Regions from separate parts of the Homo sapiens genome. Here regions 2, 3 and 4 are each linked to region 1. Evidence: promoter capture Hi-C in human tissues and cell types (Jung and others, 2019). All regions are on one chromosome and are shown on one strand. The core of a region is centred on a gene start or on the middle of the fragment in contact, and the rest is flanking DNA. Distances in the headings are between cores, read along the strand shown. Region 1 holds the start of LRP1B (LDL receptor related protein 1B). Region 2 overlaps LRP1B (LDL receptor related protein 1B). Region 3 overlaps KYNU (kynureninase). Region 4 overlaps LRP1B (LDL receptor related protein 1B).

Evidence for each region. The method cuts DNA at HindIII sites, captures the fragments that hold promoters and counts their contacts. A contact is called where the count stands out against the background at its distance.
Region 2: a fragment that was not itself captured here is called in contact with the fragment with the promoter of LRP1B in region 1 in 1 of the 25 tissues and cell types used here (hippocampus).
Region 3: a fragment that was not itself captured here is called in contact with the fragment with the promoter of LRP1B in region 1 in 1 of the 25 tissues and cell types used here (lymphoblastoid cells).
Region 4: a contact is called between a fragment that was not itself captured here and the fragment with the promoter of LRP1B in region 1, in 1 of the 25 tissues and cell types used here (mesendoderm cells).

What each region holds. Positions count from the first base shown.
Region 1 is chr2:142,129,717-142,132,416 of GRCh38, forward strand. It overlaps LRP1B (LDL receptor related protein 1B), which reads right to left and starts at 1,300. Exons shown (of 91, transcript NM_018557.3): 1 at 932-1,300. The coding sequence starts at 1,013. RefSeq lists an enhancer at 1,168-2,367. The HindIII fragment of the contact is 3,160 bases long and covers 220-2,700 here.
Region 2 is chr2:141,541,104-141,543,803 of GRCh38, forward strand. All of the region lies in intron 2 of LRP1B (LDL receptor related protein 1B), which reads right to left. Among named protein-coding and RNA genes, the nearest start is that of LRP1B, 590 kb to the right of the region's middle. The HindIII fragment of the contact is 4,219 bases long and covers 1-2,700 here.
Region 3 is chr2:142,988,421-142,991,120 of GRCh38, forward strand. All of the region lies in intron 10 of KYNU (kynureninase), which reads left to right. Among named protein-coding and RNA genes, the nearest start is that of KYNU, 110 kb to the left of the region's middle. The HindIII fragment of the contact is 3,561 bases long and covers 1-2,700 here.
Region 4 is chr2:141,565,506-141,568,205 of GRCh38, forward strand. All of the region lies in intron 2 of LRP1B (LDL receptor related protein 1B), which reads right to left. Among named protein-coding and RNA genes, the nearest start is that of LRP1B, 560 kb to the right of the region's middle. The HindIII fragment of the contact is 3,131 bases long and covers 1-2,700 here.

The DNA.
Region 1 (2,700 bases), core at 50-2,549:
TTTAACCAGTTAACCATTCCAAGGCCAGGGCCAGTGCCCCAAATATTCATCTAGTATTTTCCTCCCTTTTTCACCAGTGCATCTGTTGTCAAAGATTATTAAACTCGCACAGGGATTCTTGATTTTCCAGATGAAAAGTTTATAGAATCCCGGCTTTTTCTAATTCCTACCTCCTTTCTCCTCTGCTCCCCATATCCATTCCCTTCTAAACTTCTACCATTCACCAGCTGCTTGGAGAAAAAGGAAAAGCAAAGCGCCAGACTGGAGAGAGGCACTCCAGGGGTGGGTTAGCCCCTCAGAGCACCTGGGCTGTGTCACAGACCCTCATAATCGAAAAGTCAATTTCAAGCAGGTGCGTGCGCCCGGAATCGTCCTAAAAGCCTCTCTGCTGATGACAGGACTCTGACCCCAGTCTGCCCCCAGGAAGGGGCTATAGAAACGAAAGGGGCCTGAATCGGCGCTTTCGCCGCTCCACGGACCTCGAATGCAGCAGGTAAGGAAGTTAACCTGGGAGCTAAGTTGAGGGCGGACACGCTTAACGCGGAGAACCTGGAGCTCGCAAAAGCTCGCAGTTGAGGGCCATCGCGGAGGGAAGTCTTTCGGAAATGCGAATTCTCATTCCAACATCTGCAGCGCTTAGAATTCGCGGACAGAAGCGCACAGCCAAGTGCACACACTCCCGGAGGGGACAAAATGGGGACCGGGAAACGGCCAAAGGGAAAAGCTGTGGGGGTGCCGAGGACTCAGGCACTTGGTTCAGAAATCCCGCACCGCACCTCTCACCCCCGCACAGGGCCAGCGCACGGTGGTCACCCGGTCCCGGGGAGCGGAGCTGCAAGGACTTAAGTTTCACACTCACTTATCTGCAAGCATCGCCCAGCAGGAAAGCCAAGGAAGTCAGGGGAGGGGAGCGGGGAGGTGTTCTCCTTACCTCGGTCGGCTCCCACGGTCAGCACCCTGGCAATCGGCAATAATCCCGAGAGAGTGAGTAAGGCGAGGAGAAACTCGGACATTGTGGTCGCCCGGTAAGGAAGCCTGCGCTGGAGACTGCTCGGCGGCACCTTCGGCCCGGCGGCGGCGGCGGCGGCAGGGGCCGCTTGGAGCCTGGAATCGAGCGGCGTCATTTACAAATGTCACTGGAAATTCTTCAGCTCAATGAGTCCAGCCAGTCAGCCTTCTCCTGCCTGGAGCAGGATGTGGAAGGTGGAGGGATGCGCGCGTGCGGGAGAGAGGAGGCAGAGCGTGTGTGAGCGCGAGCGAGACGCCCGTGTGTCTTGACTTTTCAATGCAGGGTACGTCTGATCTTACATCACGCAAGAGGGGCAGTGAGAGATGCCAGCGGATGGGAATTCACTGATTAATCACCGAATCCACCACACACCCCTTCGTCGTTCACATAAATCACATCTATTACTTAATAAGAGGCATTTAACACAACAGGAAAATACCACCGCGAACGGAGAGCGCCACAAATCACAATTATTTTAATCCCCTTGAAGGGAAAGTAACTCGAAGCTGGTTCTGTGGGGATTTGGGTCTTTGGAGAAGGGAGAGACTTCTGCATTGGCCTGAGCCAGCCAGGCGCCTACAATGCTCCGCAGTTCACAGCCAGCTGAGAACCCTCAGCCGAGCACAGGGCTGCTTCTGCAGGCAAAACAAAGCTTCTCCCTTCGTTCCTCGGAAGCTTCCTTCCCGGGAAGGAAGGACAAGCCAAGGAACAGAGCTTCTCTTAGGGAAATGGTTTCCTCGGCTCTACACAGAATCCCAGTACTTCCTGAATTGCACTTTTAACTTTTATGCTGAGCAGCACCTGGGGACAAAGAGGCAAAATTTAGTGACTCAGCAGAAACAGAAAGCAAAACAACCCCCAAAGTCATTAACCGTTGCGTAAGAAGGGAAGGTTAATGGAAAAGGCTATTGAGGTCCCCAGGCAGGGAACAATAAAGCAACGAATTGGCAGCGTTTTTCTCTGGGGTTCTGTCTTTAAAAGGGTACTTCGAGCCATTTTAAACAGGCTTTGAGGGTTTTGTTGTTTTTGTTTTGTGTTTTGTTTTGTTTTCCTTTTCCATATACTACAGGGGCGGTGTAAGAACTTTCCCGAGCCATCGGAGGCATCAACGGGAATCACTGGAATAATAATATTAGTAAAGTTGTTTTTATGACCACTTAAGTTTACAACATGATCATCCCAGTCCCTAAAATTTTAGTTTGCCATTACAAAGTGGCTACGGAATTAAAACTCAGAAATCTTAATAGTTGTAGACTTACTTTCTTCCTTGTAACATCAGGAATTCTCTTCTAAGAACAAGAGTTGAAAAGGTTTTATATTTAATATTTTGAAACTGGACATGAGTGGAGAGGAAAACTATGAGAAGGGAACAGAACTAAGGAAGAGAACGATTGAAAAGTGAAGGAAGATGCTTTAAAAGCTTTATTTACTTTGCTGTTTGAGACTTATAAGTGAATGCCAGCATTACTATCTACCTATTTATGAGAGTAAAATTATCCAGAAATATCTTTAGATGCTCCTTTGAAGCCATTAAAAACTGGACTAGATGAAAGAACACAGAGATGACTTTGCAGAACATTGTCAATAATCTGTGGATTTCACCTTTTTATTCTTACTCTGTGATTATAAATGTATTTTATGTCACTTTTTCCATGTTTTAAATTATAAAGTTTACTTTCCCTTGAAAATAC
Region 2 (2,700 bases), core at 37-2,536, 590 kb before region 1:
GTCTACTTACTCCTTAATTATTAAAAGAAAGTCAATAGGTTATGGAGGAATTATTAAAATTCAAACAATGTCAATTTCTTCAACAAACATTTCCAATAGAGGTTCCAGGTGTTTTACTGTATTTGAATACAGGCATAATCAAGAAAGTGGACTCTGCCATCCAGAAATTCATCTTTTGTTGAGACAGACATGAGATCAGATTTATGTTTTAGTTTTAAACATGCTTTGGAAGAATAAGACAGATGAAATTATTCTGCCTGTAGCTGTCAAGTAAGATGACATTTGAGCTAAGTCTTAAAAACAGTAATTTGGAAAGCTCTGTTTAATCTAAACTCTTCATATTCATAGTTAACTACCACCAAATCCAATGTCCAGCGTGTTCATGAAGTGTTTGTCGTTTGGTGAAAATATCATGTCAAATTTCATCTCTTTTGTCCCCTTTTGCTATGAACATTCACACATACAGATTGAGCACAATCCTTATAGCTCAATTTTAATTCTCAGTCCCATGTATTCAATAATACACATGTTGTGAGTGTTAGAATTCAAACAAGATCAAGTTGTTATTCTTTGCAATCTATAAACTAGAGTTAACTTGGAGTACGTCTCTGGCTAAAATAAATAAATGTAAACAATATTTTTAAAAAATGTAATCTAATAGAATACATAAATAGATACTTAGAAATGGTCAAATGTAAGTTCATTCTATTCTCCATTATTATTTTTTAATGTGTTTTAAAGCATTTCAAAGAAGTTCTCATGTGAGGAAAGCTAGAAATCTGTAAATTGCTAAATATATATTACATAATATCTGCTGTAGGAGGAAAAGTCTCTGGAAATTTTCTAGAAGTTATGGCAGGCATCATGGCAAATTTCTAATAGCTTTGCTTTTTTGGCATTGAGTCAACCCTAAAAGATTATTCCTGCAATATTTCACTTCAAATTATGTAATGTTCTATTCTTTTTGCGATAAACAAATATGAAATGATGGTGAATAAATCAGACAGAAAGCATATGATTTATGACTAGGTGAACCTTACACCTTTGCAGATTTGAACAATTGCAAGCTTTGCAGATTGAACAAGTTACTTAACATCTCTCCATCAGTATCTTTATATGTATAATAAATATACTAATACCAGCTTTCTAACTTTATTTTTAAGATTAAATAAAGTAATTTAACTAAAAGAATTAGGGCAGATTTTTGGCACATTATAAGCTTTCTATGATTTTTAATGTCAACATTCCCATCCTATTAAAATTCACATTTGGAAAGAATATTAAAGATATCTATTCAAATATTTTATTATATTTAACATGAGATTGTATGGCTAAAAATATGCAGCTTTACTTCTTCTCATATAATGTTTAAGCAAATTAATACCATGACTTCCTGAAATATTATATTTATCTTTATAGTAATGGATATCTACCATACTTCTGATATAGAAGGTTGTATGCTTTGATTTTTCATCTGAACTTTTTCCTAAATAAAAAGACATTACAAAAATTAGAGCCTCCAAGTATTGCAGGATAATGTGGAATATAATACTGTTAATCATGTAAAGGTCTGGTATTAAAACAGAATTAGCAGCAGATTAGGAAGAGGTAGAACATTTTCAAACTCTGCTCTCTTTGTCTCATTTTTAAGGTAGGCAAGTGTGGATGACCTTTTTTTCTATTCCTTCCTACTAATAGAGTTAGAATAGTTCTGTTAAACTAGCTTTAATTTCTTTTAGTGCCTATTTGCAGTCCTATTGAAAATAAGAACTTACATAGAAAAGGTTAAAAGTTACATATGGTATTCAGGTATTAAAAAAGATTAAGGTAGTTTTTTATGTACTGATAGCAGAAGATTCCCAAACTATCTCATTAAGTGAAAAGAGTAAGGTATAGAACAACGTGACAGTTTGCTACTATTTGAGTAAAAACTAAATATATTTATTATCCATATACCCTAAATATACCCGTGAATGATAGAAATCCATTACTATGAAGATAAGCAAATATAAGAACTTGGTAAAATTGGTTGTCTCTTGGAGAGGAATCTGTGTAGTCAGGAAGAATTTGCAGATAATCTTAGTTTCACTGCATACCCTCTTGAACATTTAAATATTATACAAGGCCAATCATGGTGGCCCAGGCCTGTAGTCCCAGCACATTGGGAGGCCAAGGCTGGAGATCATTTGAGCCCAGAAGTTTGAGGCCAACCTAGCCAACATCCTGAAACCCTGTCTCTACAAAAAATACAAAAAAAAAAAATTATTCAGGCATGACAGTATGCACCTGTAGTCCCAGCTTCTCAAGAGGCTGAGGCAGGGGGATTGCTTCAGCCCGGGAGGCTGAAGTTGAGGTTGCAGTGAGCTGAGGTTGTGTCACTGCACTCCAGCCTGGGTAAGAAAGCGACCCTGTCTCAAAAAAAAAAAAAAAAAAAAGTTACACCATATAATTTTCTTTCCTTAAAAACAAACACAAGCTGGGTATGGTTGCACACATCTGTAGTCCTAGCTACTGAAAAGGCTGAAGCAGGAGGATTGCTTGAGCCCAGGGATTCAAGGTTACAGTGAACTACAATCACACCACCGCACTTCACCCTGGGTGAAAGAGCAAGATCCTGTCTCTAAAAGAAAAAAGAAAAAAAAAACAAATACACAGATAAACAAAAACTTATTGAACATGGAGCACAATAATTTTGAGTGT
Region 3 (2,700 bases), core at 169-2,668, 860 kb after region 1:
GACTGTAGAATATAATCTCCATTCCTTGGAGATATAATCTCTCTTATATGCTATAAGAAAGAATTCTGGCCTTCCTACCATCTTACTGATTCCGCCACTATTTAGTGGGTTGAATGAGATCTTTCATGGCTGTTTATTTTGTGTGTGTATGAGAACCTTGCTTTTAAGTTTTTTGGAAAATTATATGTTATTAGCTGTTGTTGCATTTTAACAATTTAGCCATGGAAATTTATGGGACTTAAATTAGGCTTGACTCATGAAGGCCACGTTAAGGAAAACCTTGGTTGTTTTTCTGTTTATTGTTTTCTCACACTCCTAAGCTTCTTTTTAAGTGATGTCAGTGACTGATCTCAGTGCTGTCAACTTCTAGCCTTGGCTCTCTATTCTGTACCAAGTATCTTATATTGTACTTCATTTGCATTAGGAGATCGGAGTTCTTTAATTAGGAATGGAATGCAACAGATTTGGACAAGTCAAGGACAAGGTATTTTCCAGTCATCACTTCATTGTCCCTGATAGGAAAAGAAATGTTTTGCTGAAACTTAACTTTGTGTCCCTTAGTGTGTTTTACTTTTTTATTCACCTGAAAATCAAATACCACCTGTGAGAAGAGTGATAAACAAAGAAAAGACCCAAAAGCCTACAATATCACGCTGCTCAAATAAGTGTAATTGTTCAGATGTTACGACAATGTTCCATACATAAAATATTGTGAAGATGGGGAGAGGAAGTTTTCTTGTGAATAATATTTATAGTTCCACGGTCAAATCCAATTTAAACTTTGAGTAAACTTTAGAGTCTGTATGACTACTGACTCTATTTGCCAATTAATAATTATATTTCAGTTGTTAGCATTCCACGATTAGCTGGTTTAACTATGTTTAATAAGCCTTCTGTCATCTTACTTTTCTGTTCTCTTAGAGCTTTAGAGAGACCAAAGAGTTTTTCACTGTTAAAGTGTCCAGTATGTAGCCGAGAACCATATGGAGAACATCAAATACAGTGGAACAAATGTAACTGCTATTGATGTCACACTTTGTGAAGTAGTCTTTGTTGCTTAAAAAGGGTGACATCTAGTGGCTAAACATGTTATTTCAAATAAATAATATCGAAATAACATTTCTTCTCATGGTCCACTCATTCACTCTTTAACAAGTATTTTGAAGTATATATGTTTGAATTATGTGTTCTTCTTTTTGACAATTTGACTATATGTTGATAGTGCAATAATTGTGCAGTTTAAGCCTTCAATAAAGAGGTAGAATGTGATGAAAATTGGAAGGAAACCTGAGGGGGCATTCTTAGTGCTTGGTTAAACAGAAAGCTTAACAGTTCATGAAGGCTGGTCTAAGAAAGGAATTATAAGCATGGGTGACCCACCTGGTGTAGAGAGTGTATCCCCAGATATATAACATTGCATTTTAGAAGTCTAATATTTGGTATATAATTTTTGAAATAGTCCTTTATGTGATGTTTCCATTAGCAAACAGCAAATTGCATCTGTACCAAGAGATTTCACTTCCTTTTTTGTTTAAATATGCATTTTGGACATTGTTCAAAACCTATGACCTAAGGCTTTTCCAAGAGCCCTTTGCCCATAAAGAGAATGAATAAATTAGAGGCCAGAGTCAACGCACGGCATTAAGCATCATAACTCAAGCTGTTATTCTCACCTAGAATTTAACCTTTTCCTAGTTCATTATTAACTTAGCTCATTGCAATGTCATATTCTAAACTCTGTCTGTACAATAAATTAGGACTGGTCATGACTTCTTGGATGTTTTTGCCCCACTTCAAGGTAGACTTTAATTCAGTCTACACAGTTAATTATTGCTCTGAAATATGAAGGGAACTACTCTTAATTGTACAAATTTGACAATATGAAATGTTTCACTAAAAACATGCTTAAATAACATTGTAAATTTTGAATGTTTTAAAAAAAGTTACAAATGTTAACCCTCATGGCACACTTTAGAGGACTATTTAACCTTTCAACTTTAGGGGATTCAAAGCTTTGTGAATCCTTTAAAAGGATTCTTCTGTAAGAGCCCATACATTGCGATTTAAGATACCACCTCCCTCTTTTTTTGTTAATAGAGAGTCTACTATGAAAACAGGAGTGGATAATATGAGGTATTACAAATCCATCTATCATTTACTTTTTTATGTGAGCCAGTGAAATCATACATACTGAAAACCTGCTGTTCCTCACTCTTCACGCTGGTGTAGCAAACCTCCACATGTGCCCATTGTATTAGATTCTCCTAAAATGCACATTTCCCTTGGGATACTTTTCTTCTGAGCTTTTTTGAATGGGCAAGAATGGGGCCGACTGACAATTTTGATAAAAATACTTGAATTTTAAATCATGCCAACACATTTCCATAATCAGCTAGAGGTATTTGATTGAAAGTTTTAAACAGTGATGACATTTTAAAGGCCTTATTAAGGGCTTGAATTATCTCCTTTATTGTAAAGAGTAATTTGCTGGTGAAAAAGAACCAGTTGAAAAGGCTGGCTGACTTCAGTGCATGGTTAAGAAATAAGAGTTGTTACTATTTGGCAACAACATTAGAAAAACAATATGCATCAAACAATTCCCAGGAAAGTCCCAGAAAGAATAAAAATAAACATCCAGAAATTTCAGCAAAAAGACTTAAAAAATTATAACTTTATACCATGCTTGTCCCAACTGTACAG
Region 4 (2,700 bases), core at 47-2,546, 560 kb before region 1:
AGCAGGTAATGATGTGGGATGCAATAAAGATTTTATTATCATTTTATTGGGATGAACATCCTATCTTACTCATATTTCTACCTATGTAGTTCATTTATCCCAAACTTTTAGTAGTAAAGTTAATGGCATTCCACACTTCCTAACATTCCTGCACTATTTTGTGCTTTACGCATACGCGTATATGAAATGGCAAAATATATCAGTTCAAGGATAAACAGAACCCAAGATTAAACTAAGTTACATAATGGTAAGTTAAGAGGTACACTGTTTGTATATTTAATCAGGAAATGAAATCTTAATCACTGTTGACTTTCATCTCACATCTTCTTGCTGTGCTTCTGGAAATACCAGTTTCTTAAGGTCAATCATAATTGAAAATATAACTAACATTATTGAGCACCATTTTTTTTTGCCAGGCACTCTGCCTGGCACTTTACATTTCTTTATTTTACCAAGTCATGAGCTGCTTTTCTTATTTTATAAGAGAGGTTGTAACTTGCCTAAAGGTGCAAGGAATGACCTTATATGGATTCAAATATAGGTATTTCTGGCTGCAAATCACCTTCCACTAATAATATGCCTGGCAGAAAATGTTATTAAAATACTTTAACAACTACTGTTCTTTGTCAACCCACTAAGCCACATTTCAGGAAAAAAAAAAAGAAAAAAGAACTAGCAAGGTGATCCCTCCAATATCCTCCTGAATCTGCAGAAACAACAACAAAAAAGGGCAGACTGGGAAATTAAAACTCTGCCAAAAACAAACCCAAGCTGTCAAAGAGAAGAAATAATTAAAGAAACGATGTAACTTTCACTTATAGTAAATGAAATTATATAAAATCAGACATGTTGAGAATTACGTAAAGTAGAAATAGTGACTTTATGCACAAAAACATAATTATGAGCATTCCCATAAAATTTAAAAATTAATAAGAATTGTATAATTTTCCATATGGAAGACAGAATGATGGTGAACTGTATATCTTCTATCAGTGTAACTGGCATGCAAATGTATCCACCATTCTTTATTGGTATTTGTTTTCCATTATGTGTGGTCTTCCAGTATGAGTAACTTCATGTGAAACGTGACTATCTAATAAATATAAAATCTCCAACCTCTCTTTGTTTTAATTTTCTCATCTAAGAAATGGAAATACCACATCCCCTTTCTCATTAAGTATTCTTACTGATTATAAATAAACTCCTGGATGGGTGCAATGTCATGCACCTGTTGTTCCAGTTACCCTGGAGGCTGAGATGGGAGGATCACTTGAGCCCAGGTGTTTGAGGCTGCAGTGAGGTATGATCATGCCACTGCACTCCAGCTTGGACAAGAGACTGAGACTCCCATCTCTTAAAAAAAATTAAAAATAAAACTAAAGTAAATTCCTAGAAATAAAGGCACTTTGAACAGAATTTGCTTAAAGAAATTGTATCATTGTTAATAATTATAGTTCACTAAGGGTTATCTTAATTTGCTTCAATCAACCTGGCCAGCAACAGCTAGCATTCTTACATAGGAAGATCATGAAAAAAGATTAGAAAATTAGAAAAAAGAGGAAATCATTTTAGTATAATTCAGTTATAATTCTATTGTGTTTGTTGTTATAAATAAAACTTTTTAAAAGGGCAAGTTTGATTGAACAAAACTCCCAAATTCCTTGACTATGCAATGGCATCAGATGTCTAAGGAAAGGAAACTTATAAGACCATGTTTCTAATTACTTTAGGATTCACAAATTGCGATCATTTTTTTTTCCTACTGAAGACAACATTATCCAAGAAGAATTGCAATAATTATATATAAAATTGTTAAGGAAAGAAAACATTTACCTAAAAATAACTACTTCATTCATAGGCTAAGGATTTTGTTATTTGTTTCAAAGAACAAAAACCAATAGATATGAAAATATTTGTTAGTAAATCATTTTCAGGACACCTAGTTGCCATATTTCTGTTTCCAATTCTTTTTACGTAGGTTTCCTAATGACATCTTAAAGCATTCAACCTATAATTTACATTAATTTTTAGATTTGACCAAGGAAAAGTATTTGCTGTGAAGTCATTGAGTTCTCCTAACTTTTACATGTTAAATAATAAGAAAAGATGAGAAATTAGGTGATGACTATTATATGTTAAAAGAGACTCTCTAAGTGTTTAGAATATGCTCTGAAATTACATTAGGTATGTGGGAAATCTGCTTATGAACTCTTTCATTATTTTACCTGGGAAACTAAACAGACCTTAAATCTGGACTACTAAAGATTCACCTTGATTAGAATTTCTTAGGGTTAAATGTGGAAGGGCCCCTAGGAAACCAATTTCCTAATACAGGCTTAGCCTGGATTTATATTGGAAACAGTAAAGAAGGCAGAACTTTGCCTCTCTTCTTCTGTTGTAGATTTTGCCAAAGGGAGCTATAGGGGAGCAAACGGTGATTGTCCAAATTTGTGCCTGATATTATTGGTTCAGTTGTTTATCACTGAATAGCTTCCATGTTATTCAGGCTTTCAACAAACATTTACTAAAAGCATAGAACTGTCCAGAGTCATGCTAAGCAATAAAGACAAATATTTAAGACTTGCTTGCTGCTCCTTAAGGATCTTACTTTCTATTATATGTAGAAACAAAAACATAACTAACCAAGGAAAGAAGCTTGGACATAAGTGCGGGATAAAGTTAGAGCATTAAGGATGGGCT